Linked DNA regions of Homo sapiens: region 2 is linked to region 1. The links are contacts of gene promoters, found by promoter capture Hi-C in blood cells and fetal thymus (Javierre and others, 2016). All regions are on one chromosome and are shown on one strand. The core of a region is centred on a gene start or on the middle of the fragment in contact, and the rest is flanking DNA. Distances in the headings are between cores, read along the strand shown. Region 1 holds the start of PDHA1 (pyruvate dehydrogenase E1 subunit alpha 1). Region 2 has its middle 5.1 kb from the start of BCLAF3.

What was found. Contacts are between HindIII fragments. The CHiCAGO score rates a contact against its expected background, and 5 or more counts as called.
Region 2: a contact is called between a fragment that was not itself captured here and the fragment with the promoter of PDHA1 in region 1, in 1 of 17 cell types (neutrophils). The highest score is 9.5, in neutrophils.

What each region holds. Positions count from the first base shown.
Region 1 is chrX:19,338,933-19,345,542 of GRCh38, forward strand. PDHA1 (pyruvate dehydrogenase E1 subunit alpha 1) reads left to right here and starts at 4,995. Exons shown (of 11, transcript NM_000284.4): 1 at 4,995-5,162. The coding sequence starts at 5,106. The HindIII fragment of the contact is 3,035 bases long and covers 3,946-6,610 here.
Region 2 is chrX:19,992,887-19,999,496 of GRCh38, forward strand. No RefSeq gene overlaps it. Among named protein-coding and RNA genes, the nearest start is that of BCLAF3, 5.1 kb to the left of the region's middle. The HindIII fragment of the contact is 9,736 bases long and covers 1-6,610 here.

The sequences.
Region 1 (6,610 bases), core at 3,745-6,244:
TTTTGTTAAAGCCGCCCAAACATTACAAATCCCCCAACAGCTTGATCTAGTACTTCCTCAGGGGTTACAACACAGGGATATTAAAATTATATGGTTCCTTTTTTATTTACTGCTGGAAATTATTCTATAAAGAACTATTCCTCATCAACTGTTTGTTGACATTGAAATTCAGTCTATGTAAGAAAGACAGGATAAATCCTTGGTTCTTTCCCTTTGCCAGATTTCAGAATAATTACTATTGGGCTGGTCTTTGCTTCTAGGTATTTCCAGTGGAGAGAGTTAAGATACACACACACATACACACACACACACACACACACACACATCGTTTTTGCTTTGAGACACAGTCTCATTCTGTTGCTCAGGCTAGAGTGCACTGGCACGATGATGGCTCACTGCAGCCTCCACTTCCCAGGCACAGGTGATCCTCCTACCTTGGCCTCCCTAGTAGCTAGGACTGCTGGTATGCGCCACCATGGCCGGCTAATTTTTTATATCGTGTAGAGACAGGGTCTTACCATGTTGCCCAGGCTGGTCTTGAACTCCTGAGCTCAAGTGATCTGCCCACCTTGGCCTCCTAAAGTACTGGGATTACAAGTGTGAGCTACCGAGCCTAGCCAAGATGTATGTATGTGTGTGTGTGTGTGTGTGTGTGTGTATCTTGAGGGGGGGAAATAATCATGAGTTTATACTGATATTTCCAATTCAAATTCAGGACCTCTTGGCTTTGACCTGTTGAATTTTACATTTGTGTCTCTGTTTTTTATACTGAAAATCTTGGTTCCCAATGGCATTAACATAATTATATATTTACTTTATCAGTGTGGGTATGTGCAGTCTTAAATAATAACACCTGACAAATGAGAACAATTTAAGATTTTTTTCTGTAGAGATGGGGTCTCCCTATGTTGCCTAGGCTGGTCTCAAACTCCCGGGTTCAAATGATCCTCCCACCTCAGCCTCCCAAAGTGCTAGGATTACAGGTGTGAGCCTCGCCTTAAGATTTTTTTTTCCAGTTCCTTTTGTCTTTAGGCTATACCCCACCAGGCATATGCAGTCACATTGCTGTGGTGTGAAATAACTTGAAATCATTCTCTGCGGGGTTATGCTGACAACTTGGTATGTTATTAAATTGGTTTGTTATATTTCATTTCCATTGTTATGTCATTGTGTTTTATGGTCGTGTAAAAACATTTATATGGTTCCAAAGTTAAAATGACCCCTAGCCATAATCCTTTCACCAGCTGCTGCTTAGTACCTCAAAGACATTTGCAAAGATTTGTTGACTTTTATGACACATGTATATGATTGTCCTACTCTAATTCATCTGCTGGGGGATGGGTGTTTCTTACTGGAAAACCGGAGACATGTCAAGGAGCATGATTTGCCTTAAAGCTCAGCTTGATCGAATACTTGTAGGGTGATTCGCTAACGAAAGGTAAAAAGGCATATTTCAGGGTCTCTAATCAAAATTGCCCTGCTTCACCCAGATACGTTTTTTTTGTTTTGTTTTTTAGAGAGATGGGGTCTCGCCCTGTCACCCAGGCCGCCATGCAGCGATGCCGCCATAGCTTACTGCAGCCTCAAACTCCTAGGCTCAAGCAATCCTCCCTCGTCAGCATCCCTAGTAGCTGGGACTACAGGCATGCAACACCATACCAGACTAATTATTTTATTTTTTGTACAGACGAGTATCACTTTGTGGCCCAGGCTGGCCTCAAACTCCTGGCCTCAAGTGATCCTCCTGCCTTGGTCTCCCAAAGTGCTGGGATTACAATTTCCCCCAAGATTAACGAGCCCTCCTTTCTTAAGACTTTCTCTTCCCGCCTTTTGCAAATCTTTCTTTCTCTCCGGCCTCCTCTCCTGATACAAGAGTCTTTTGTGAATGTTCTAGCGCGTTACTATAGCCTATAGTTATTATAGCCTATAGTTAATGACTATAACATTACTATAACGTTACTATAGCCTATAGTTAATGACTATTAACCACAATCATCACCTGTCACCACTTGACACAGCATCTCACAGTGTCCCTCACCTTCAAAGTTGCTTCCAACTCTGCTTTCAAATATCTGAAAACAGCTGGGCGCGGTGGCTCACACCTGTAATCCCAGCACTTTGGGAGGCCAAGGTGGGCAGATCACCTGAGGTCAGGAGTTTGAGACCAGCCTGGCCAACATGGTGAAACCCCGTCTCTACTAAAAAAATACAAAATTAGTCGGGCATGGTGGTGCTCGCCCGTTTTCCCAGCTACTCGGGAGGCTGAATGAGGAGTATCACTTGAACCTGGGAGTCAGATGTTGCAGTGAGCCAAGATGTCACCACTGTACTCCATCCTGGGCAACAGAGTGAGAATCTGTCTCAAAAAAAAAAAAAAAAAAAAGAGGCCGGGCGCAGTGTCTCATGCCTATAATCCCAGCACTTTGGGAGGCTGAGACGGGCGGATCACGAGGTCAGGAGATCAAGACCATACTGTCTAACATGGTGAAACCCTGTCTCTACGAAAAATACAAAAAAAATTAACCGGGCGTGGTGGCGGGCACCTGTAGTCCCAGCTACTCGGGAGGCTGAGGCAGGAGAATGGCGTGAACCTGGGAGGCGGAGCTTGCAGTGAGTTGAAATTGCACCACTACACTCCAGCCTGGGCGACAGAGCGAGACTCTGTCTCAAAAAAATAAATAAATAAAATATATATATATACACGTATGTGTGTATATATATGTATATATATGAAGAACAAGAAGTGCAGAGAAAATATCCTAGTCATTGAAAAATTGGTTACTTTGTTTCTGCACTGCAAAGTTACTTTAAACTTTGTAATGAATCTAGTGGAGAGATCATTTGAGATGAGGCAAATGTCCTGTTTCTCATCATACATTTACCCACTAATTTTAGCCTGTATTGATGATAATTCTCACCTGCAACAGTTACTGTGGTCTTTGCCAAATGGTGATTTTCTTTTTCTATTTTCATCATTCCTTCTATATTAATTAATTGGAATTCTACTGTAAGGAAAAGTTGTTCCTTCTAACCCATTGATTTGTTCAATCATGTATTTAAGTAGGACCTATATTTTACTTGTTCCTTGCTATATCTTCAGTGTGTAGTACAGTGTCTGACACAAAATCGGTGCTCAATAATAGGTGTTGGATGAATGAGCAAATGAATGAATGAATTCATATTCATATGGCCTACAGAGTTCCCGTACATGCACAACCAATATCACCACCCCGTGGAGATGACTCCCAAATTAATATTTTTAGCAAATGTTCCAGACTTACAACTCCAACTTCCCGGGGGACATCTTCAGATAGCTGTGCCACTGCCACCACCAGGTCAACATGTCCCAAACCATTCAGACCAGCTTTTTCTCCTGAGCTGGACATCTGGCCTCCAACCTTTTCATTCTCTTTTACCTTTCATATTCTATCAGCAGCAGCAGCTGCTGAAATCATACCATGCAAGTTTCTCACGTCCATCTCTGCCTTTTAATGGCGCCCTCTCACTCCTTTAAGAAGTTTTCTTCCACTGCAACACGATCTCTCAGTCCAGAGTCTGGCCCAGTGCCCAAATTATTTCTCTAGCTATGCTGAGAGCTGGTCATGCTTTGAACTTCTGCTTTGAATACTTTCAGTGACACTGGGAGAGAATTATCTCATTGGACCATTGTCATTGTTAGAAAATTCATTGTTATGCTGAAATGAAATGATTTTATTCACACACACACACACACACACACAAAATAGCTCTTCCTCCTGGAACATGACTGGCCTGAAAATGTGTGAAGACATATCCAATCCTCTCTGGTTTTACTGTTCATCCAATTTTCTGTTCTCCTCCTGGCAGGAGGATTATATTTCACCTTGTGGAACTCAGACATGGTCGGGTAACTAGCTCTGGTCCGTGAAAATTGAGAGGAAGTGACATGTGTCACTTCTGGGCAGAAGCTTTGAGAGCCGGTTTAAATGATCCCTTTTCTCTTCATCCATGAGACAAGCTAAGTTCCAGAGAGAGGGTGCCACGCTGTGAGGGACCTGTGTTACGAGTACGATGGCTCGCGTCACTTCAAATTCTTGAAATCACTGAAATTTGGAGGTCAGTTGTTACATCATAACCCAGCCAATTCTAGTTAGCCTGTTTTCTTCCTAACTTCTTTAATCGTTCTTCATAAGTCACAATCGCAGCCCCTCACCGTTCTGACCACTGTCCCCTGGATTCCACTCAGTTTACTCATTATCCCCCTTAAAATGTGGAGCCCAAATCTGAACCCGGAACCCCAGGTGCAATCCCACTAGGACACAACACAATGGGTTCCTGAGCCCTTTGATCCTCTGAATAGAGCCCCTTGTTGCTTTGGTGTTTTGTCTCTGTGTGTGCTTTTATCATCGGCTGAGCCACGCTGTTAACTCGCAGTGAGCCTGTGAACCAATAACTAGAGAAAAAAGATTTTTCCCATTGTCCTCTCGACATATATTGGGAAACAAATTTTTTGATCCGCGTTCAAGTAGACAGGGCAGAACTGTCCAACTGCTACGTGATCTTTTAAAGACAAAGTTAGTGGCAGACCATTTACAGAAACCAGATGTTCTGTCTTTTGGCTCTGAGCATGCTGCTAATCTTCATCATCTAGTGTACTGAACGAGATGTACTGAACGAGGGCTGCAGAGCTGCAGCACCGGCAGGAGTAGGCGCTCGGTAGGACGGGGCCTGCACAACCTCCCCGGTAGTCAGCAGAGCGGAATCTAGGAAGGCTCCTTTCCCGCGGCGCCCTGGAGGCGGGGGCCCCACCTTCCCACGCAGGCGCTATCAAGCCCCGCCTCCTCACCCGCCCGCGGCGTGGCGTCGGAAAGAGCCCTCAGCCCCTCCCTCTCTGGCGCTGATACCCAATGGGCAGCCTCAGGCCTTTAGCGGGGGCGGGGCACCCCCTGGACGCCGTTCTGGTTGGCCCGCGGCCCGGCGCAGCGCATGACGTTATTACGACTCTGTCACGCCGCGGTGCGACTGAGGCGTGGCGTCTGCTGGGGCACCTGAAGGAGACTTGGGGGCACCCGCGTCGTGCCTCCTGGGTTGTGAGGAGTCGCCGCTGCCGCCACTGCCTGTGCTTCATGAGGAAGATGCTCGCCGCCGTCTCCCGCGTGCTGTCTGGCGCTTCTCAGAAGCCGGTGAGACCTCCCGGGCGGGCCGGGATGGGGCGCGAGTGGGGCTGAGGCGGGGCCGGAGGGCAGGGCGGGCCAGGCCGGGCCACCCAGAGCGGGGTGGAAGGCGCCAGGGGAGCCGGGGAGCCTTTACTTCGCCTCCGCGCCCTGCATTCCGTTCCTGGCCTCGGGAGAAGCGGCACGGACCGGGATCACGCCAAGGTCCGTGTGAACTTCCCCCTTCTCGACACCCACCTCCCGCCCCCGGGCCCAGCTGTGCGCCAGGCGAAGTCGGTGTGCTCAAGAGGTGCCTGTTGGGTTACAGGACACGGAAAGGGTGGCCTCGGCCTCCTTCGAGTCTCCAATTGACCCCACTCATTTCGGATCTTCTAACTTAATTTCTCTTGACCGAGAGGCTTTGTAATAGCGTAGAATCTGGAGACAGGGTGGCTTCGTTCAAACAGCACCCTCACCATTGACTAGCCCTGTGACCTTGAGCAAGTTTTTAAACGTCCCGGGGACCCGGTTTCCTAAAATGTTTGCTCGAAGTGGAGTTAATCTCTAAATGGAGATAAGAGTTATCTCTGAAATGTTATCAGTTAACTCTAAAATGGAGATAATAAGAGTCCCCACCTCTTGGGGTTGTCTTGAGGATTCAACGAGTGACACGTGTGGAAACGATTCCAAATAGCACCTGGCACATAATCGATAACATGTGTGTTGAATAGTGTTATTTATTGAGTCTCCAGTTCGGTATACATTTCTTGAACACCTGTGCTCAGTTCTGAGGCGGGTTCACAGAAGGTCAGCCTCTTCAGAAACAAACTTCCTCCTCTTCCCTCTCCCTCAACATCTGAGCTTTTCTTGGCAGTGAGTTCAGGAGCGCCGAAGCAGAACTCAGAGGACGCTGCCCTCCCCTCCCCTTACCTACACATTCTTAGGGTACAAGTAGCTAAAGCAAAGAGCAACGATGCTTGAGGGGTGGGGGGTAGAGTTTAGCACTATTTCATGGCCTCAGCATTTAGAGGTGCCTAACACCTGAGCTAGCATTCTGACCCCCCTAGGCACAGTGAGGTCGTGTTAATTGGTGTAACTGCAGGCCTCGGGATTCTGGTATTTCCCCCAGGACTTGATACCGCTCTACTTAGTACAGGCAGAGATTGTCAAAAGGTAAGAGGTATGCCCCTCTAGGAATCCTGTTGCCTAAAATAATGACAAAACTGCCGGGTGCGGTGGCTCAGGCCTGTAATCCCAGCATTTTGGGAGGCTGAGGCAGGTGGATCACCTGAGGTCAGAAGTTCGAGATCAGCCTGGCCAACATGGTGAAACCCCGTCTCTACTAAAAATACAAAATTAGCCGGTCGTGGTGGCGGGCTCCTGTAATCCCAGCTACTCGGGAGGCTGAGGCGGGAGAATAGCCTGAACCCGGGAGGCGGAGTTTGCAGTGAGCGGAGATCGTGCCATTGCACTACGGC
Region 2 (6,610 bases), core at 2,403-4,902, 650 kb after region 1:
TCCTGCTGCCTCGGCCTCCCTAAGTGTTGGGATTACAGGCAGGAGCCACTGTGCCCAGCCTTCAACCACTCTTGTAAGCAGAGCCCCCTGCTTTGCCCTTTGACTTGTCCTAACATTAAACTACCACTTAAAACTCCAGTCTGCATTTTCCATTCCTACGTCTACATTTCCAAACACTGCTTGGGCGGGGAGAAAGCCACACAACTATCAAAGAATGATGCCACTACAAATGTGTGGATGCCCACCACAGTGGAGAGCCTGATAGCACTTTGTAATCATTTTATGTGACCCTTTTATGTGATCTTTTTTCCAATAATTGCTGTTACAAACCCTTTTACCACTCTTTTTAAGCCTTATGCAAATGATCATTTTCCTTTCTTCATATATGACTTTGCTTCCTGTTTGGCAGGGAACATGCTTTCAAACAGCATACAAACTCTAGCCTCTCTTCCCCTTGTACACAATGCTCTGGTCATACTAAAGTTTTTGTAATGTAAGAATAAATAATGCTTTTTCTTTCTGGTTAAGAGGTGTGAGTCCTTTTTCACCTGCATATATATGGCCTCAATTCAGAAACATTTTCTTCCATTCTATCTTCAAGAATTGTTTCTGCTCCATTAGCTCTAATCTCTCTTTTAGGAAGAGCAATTAGCTGTATTAGTTCTCTGTTTTATTTTTTTATTTTTATTTATTTATTTATTTTTTTGAGACGGAGTCTCTCTCTTGTCACCCAGGCTGGAGTGCAATGATGCAATCTTGGCTCACTGCAACCTCCGCCTCCCAGGTTCAAGCAATTCTTCTGCCTCAGCCACCTGAGTAGCTGGGATTACAGGCACCCACCACCATGCCCGGCTACTTTTTGTATTTTTAGTGAAGACGTGGTTTCACCATGTTGGCCAGGCTGGTCTCGAACTTGTGACCTCAAGTGATCTACCCGCCTTGGCCTCCCAAAGTGTTGGGGTTACAGGCAGGAGCCACCGCACCGGCCTGTTTTATCATTTTCGTCTTTCATCCATTTCCAGCATTTCCAGTAGACCTCAAGTTTGCTTTATTGATACTGATATGGCTTTCTAAAGCATTATTTCTGTCTCTATTTTGACTCAAACTTTATTATTGAGATTTTTGTTTCTTTGTATTCTCTCCCGCCCGGTTCTCTCCCGTTACTGTAGTAATCTCCATCTCACCCTTTCATTTCCTTACGAATTTCTGTTCTGATTTTATAGAAAGCCTATCATATTCCAAAAGGATGCTAAACCGGTTGTGAAATTTTTCTTTCAGATTCTGCAGATAATCCTTTTCAGAAGTATGCTCCTTTGGGACAGGTGCAGTGGCTCACGCCTGTAATCCCAGCACTTTGGGAGGTCAAGGAGGGTGGATCACTTGAAGTCAGGAGTTCGAGACCAGCCTGGCCAACATGGGGAAACCCCCGTCTCTACTAAAAGTACAAAAATTAACTGGGCGTGGTGGCGCACGTCTGTAGTCCCAGCTACTCAGGAGGCTGAGGCAGGAGAATCGCTTGAACCCAGGAGGTGGAGGTTGCAGTCAGCCAAGATTGCGCCACTGCACTCCAGCCTGGGTGACAGAGCGATGCTCCATCTCAAAAAAAAAAAAAAGAAATGTGCTGTTTTTTTCTCTTCCATTCCCATGGTTTCTGTGTCTTCATTATATGTAAATATAAATATATGTACACACAAATATAAATTTATATACACACATATTTATATTTATAAATAAAAAATATATACACACATATATACATACATATACATATATGCACACAGATATATATGTATATGTGTATATATATTTGTGTATGTGTATATATATGTGTGTGTGTATGTATGTATGTATATATATATATATATATATATATATATATTTCTTTTGACTCCTCTTTGAACAAGGTGGTCTTTTTCCAGACTCACAATTGTCAACAGACAGCACAAGTAGATGGTCCTTGGCCCTATTTGCTGTCTACTTGTGTGGAAAGAGAGGTTAAACAGTTTGCACATAGTCCTTGGTGTCTATATGAATAGCATACATGCACATGTACGCAGAGCAAGCCTAAGAGAAACGGAGTATCATCTCCCTTGCCTTTCCTTTCCTTTGGGTTTCATGTGAAGCCAAATCTGCTGCAGAATGCCAGCTCTGCTTCAAACAAGGAATTTGTATTGGTAAGAATAAGCTATGCTACAATAACAATCCCAAAACCTCAGTGGCTTGGAGAAAGAAAGAACAGCAAATGTTTATTTCTCACTTACATTTCACATCCATCGTGGGGCAACTTTGACTCTTCTGTCTGGGATCCAGACTGAAAGAATAGACCCTGCCGGAGAGCTTACCACTGTCATATCAGAAGAAAACAAGCAAGGGTGGGACCATACACTACATAGTGAAGCTCCTGCTTCAAGCCACCAAATCAGAAACTCTAGGGCTGGGCATGGTGGCTCACTGTAATCCAAGCACTTTGGGAGGCTGAGGTGGGTGGATCTTCCGAGGTCAGGAGTTCAAGACCAGCCTGGCCAACATGGGGAAACCCTGTCTCTACTAAAAACACAAAAATTAGCCAGGCGTGGTGGTTCACACCTATAATCCCAGCTACTCGGGAGGCTGAGGCAGGAGAATTACTTGAACCTGGGGGGCAGAGGTTGCAGTGAGCCGAGATTGCACCATTGCACTCCAGCCTGTGTGACAGAGCAAGACTCTGAAAGAAAGAAAGAAAGAAAGAAAGAAAGAAAGAAAGAAAGAAAGAAAGAAAGAAAGAAAGAAAGAAAGAAAGGAGGGAGGGAGGGAGGGAGGGAGGGAGGGAGGGAGGGAGGGAGGGAAGGAAGGAAGGAAGGAAGGAGGGAGGGAAGGAGGGAGGGAAGGAGGGAGGGAAGGAGGGAGGGAAGGAAGGAAGGAGGAAGGAAGGAAGGAAGGAAAGAAAGAAAGAGAAAGAAAGAAAGAAAGAAAAAGAAAGAAACTAACTCTAGGAGTAGGGCCCAGCAAACTTCATTTCAGCAAGTCTCCAGGTGACTCTGACGCACCCTCAAACGAGAACCACTGCTGCATCGCTTGTACTCCCTGCAAACCAGAACATGGACATAGAGGCTTGCTGTAATTCAGGGTAGTTTTAAAATCCTTAAACCAGAGAAAAATGTAAACAGTTTTAAAAGGAGCAATTCAGGCTGCAATGCAGACTTAGACAAAGTACATACTGCCATCGTCATTTTTTGGAGAGCATCAGCTTCTGGGGAGACCTATCAGCTGCCTTGGCACGTTCTCCCGCCACCCTTCTGTGTGGCTTTCTTTTTTAAATGCTGACGTGAGAAAAAGAAAATTGTGAAGCAGTAGGACAAATAGCTTTCTCAACCCTTGAAAACACTGTTGTCCAGATTGACCCTAGTTTGTATGGTGATGGTGTGACTTCAGCATCTCCATTAGCGCTTAGAACCCAGGACTGGCAGAACCAGGTGCATTTTCCCTTGCCTTAACGATCTGACTTTGGTTGTGTGGCTTAACGCTATTAATGAAATTTAATGTATAATGCTTAGCTGGCCCTGTTCCCTCCTCCTTGTCTTCCATCCCATGATATAGGCATTTTTTTGTGGACGCTGTCCTTTCTTTACCTTTGCTTTTTAAATGGCTTTGTCAACAGCAGAGTGCAGACAGAACTGATTTATATTGTTTGGATGAAAATGTTTTTAGACAGGCTTATGCTGCAGGTTTCTTTTTGCTCATTCTAGTCACTGCCTGTATGTCTGTTTTCCTACTGAGATGGAGGACAAATTCCTAAACAAAATTTGGTAGTTGCTACCAGTCAGTCCTCTGGTCCTATAAATTATTTCTGATGAACTCTTTTGTAATGTAATAGGTGTAGTGGCTTGGCTCTGGTTCTGAAAGACATATAATATCTGTGGTTTTAAAGCAGTGTCTTACAACTCAGCAATTATTTTGAAAAACATTTTGAGATAGTCTACCTACATTAACGCAAGGCAAAAAGGAGGAGTTTGAGACCAGCCCACACAACATGGCAAAACACCGTCTCTACAAAAAAACACAAAGAATTAGCCAGGCATGGTGGTAGGAACCTGTTGTCCCAGCTACTTGGGAGACTGAGATGGGAGAATCATCTGAGCCCGGGAGGCAGAACTTGTAGTGATCTGAGATTGCGCCACTGCACTCCGGCCTGGGCAACAGAGCAAGACCCTGTCTCAAAGAAATAAACAAATAAGAGCAGCCTGGCTAACATGGTGAAATCCCGTCCGTAACAAAAATACAAAAATTAGCCGAGTGTGGTGGCGCATGTCTGTAATCCCAGCTACTCTGGAGGCTGAGGCAGGAGAATCGCTTGAACCCGGGAGGGTGAGGTTACAGTGAGCCGAGATTATGCCACTGCACTCCAGCCTGGGCAACAGAGTGAGGCTCTGACTCAGAAAAAAAGAAAAGAAAAGAAAAGAAAAAGTCCAGTGCCTTCCCACTGTAGAAACTCTATACCCAAATCCCTTCCTACCATAAATGGTCTCTTTTGTGTCCACGCACAACCCCAAAACCAATTCAAAAGTCATTCATCTCTCCAAAACTTCATTTGCCTGACGAATTTACTTTGTTCAACCCCATATTTATTAGGTACCCCACAGTCTCGTCTTAACTTTTCACTCCAATTCCCACTCTCCCTTGGACTGGTAGGGAAAGAGAACATAATGGACTCTGTGGTAGATTTTACAATAATATATTCAAAACATTTACCACCCTTCCCTCCCCAGGCCCCTTACTAGAAAATGGAAAAATGACACAAGTGACTCACATGATACTCCTACTGAACAGCTCTGGTCTAAGTCAATCATGGCATGGCAGAGACGACTAACTATCCACCAAATTATGTGTGTTCTCTCTTCCATAGAATAGCAATATCTCTGGTAAGAAGCAAACTAGCCAGGGAATATACTTCCCAGCATCCCTTGCATCTAAGTAGGGCCACATGACTAGTTGTACTAACGGAATGTGAGAGGAAGTAGTACATGTCCCTTAGGGGCCCAGGTGGTTAAGAAGTCATGTGTCTTCTCCATACTCTTTCCCTGTTCTGTCAGCTTGATGCAGAAAAACGTGATACAATTGGAAGATGAGGGGGCCACAAGATGGAGAGAGTCTGGTCTCTGACTTAGGACTCAGAGGAGCGTTGTAATCAGGCACATCTGTTTGGGACTTCACATAAGGAAGAAAAAAACTTGTATTTGAGCCATTCTGCATTTTAGGTGTGCTGTGGTTGTTACAGAAGCGAGCATTACCTCAACTAATAACATGGGATAATCTCACTCCCTTTGGCAGGTGATGAGCTGAGGGGTAGGTGGAAGACCTAGTACTGGCCAATGAGAAGTAGAAATCTGCTGCTGGGGGCTTCTGGGAGAGGGTTTCCTCCCTGGCTAAAGGAAGGTGCAGTAACAAGGAGCAGCCTGCCACTGACTTCTTGCCTTTGACCATGATGGTGTGCAGTTGGGATGCTGGTGCTGCAGCGACCTTCTTCAGAGCCAAGACACTCAAAGAGATGCTGCCTTAGAATCCTGACGCCATTGAGCTGCCTTTGGAGCTTGTTATATATTAGGTGTGATAAATACCCTTAATATTGAAATCGCTTTCTGCTATATGTACTGGGACCATTCAAACTGGTATATTTATTCTCAATAGAGAAATCATTCATTCAACAAAGATTTATCGTGTGTCCACTGTGTGGCAGGTGCTGTTCTCGGTGCTGGGGATTCAATAGCAAATATGAAAAGTAGGGTCCCTGGGACCTTTATCTTTATCAGACTGTGGGTCTGGCAGAAACACATGCAGATCCAAGGCCACAATTTTATTATATTATATTTTTATGAATATATTAGAGATAAGGCCTCTGTTACCCAGGCTGGAGTACATTGGCACCATCACAGCTCACTGCAGCCTTCAACTAACTTCCTGCCTTAGCCTCCCAAGTATCTTGGGCTCAAGCTATCCTCCCACCTTAGCTTCCCAAGTATCTGGGACTATAGGCATGCACCATCATGCCTGGCTGTTATTTTAATTTTTGTAGAGAAAAGGTCCCACTATGCTGCCCAGGCTGGTCTTGAACTCCTGGGCTTAAGTGATCCACCTGCCTTGGCTTCCCAAAGTCCTGGGGTTACAGGTGTGAGCCACTGTGCCTGGCAGAGGCCATAATTTTAATTCAAAGAGTTTCTCAGTAACAACTGTGTTTATTCACTCACAAATATTTACTCAATATCTATGTTGGGTGATAGGAATATGACAGTCTTGCTGTCATGACACTTACAGTGAGGGAGATAGACCTTAATCAAAGAATCTCACAAATCAATGTATCATCACAAACTGTAATGATATGAAAATGTGGGCTGGGCGTGGTGACTCACTCCTGTAATCCCAGCACTTTGGGAGGCCAAGGCAGGTGGATCACCTGAGATCAGGAGTTTGAGACCAGCCTGGCCAACATGGTAAAACCCGTCTCTACTAAAAATACAAAAATTAGCTGGATGTGGTGGCGCACGCCTGTAATCCCAGCTACTCGGGAGGCTGAGGCTGGAGAATTGCTTGAACCTCGGGGGCAGAGGCTGCAGTGAGCTGAGATTGTGCCACTGCA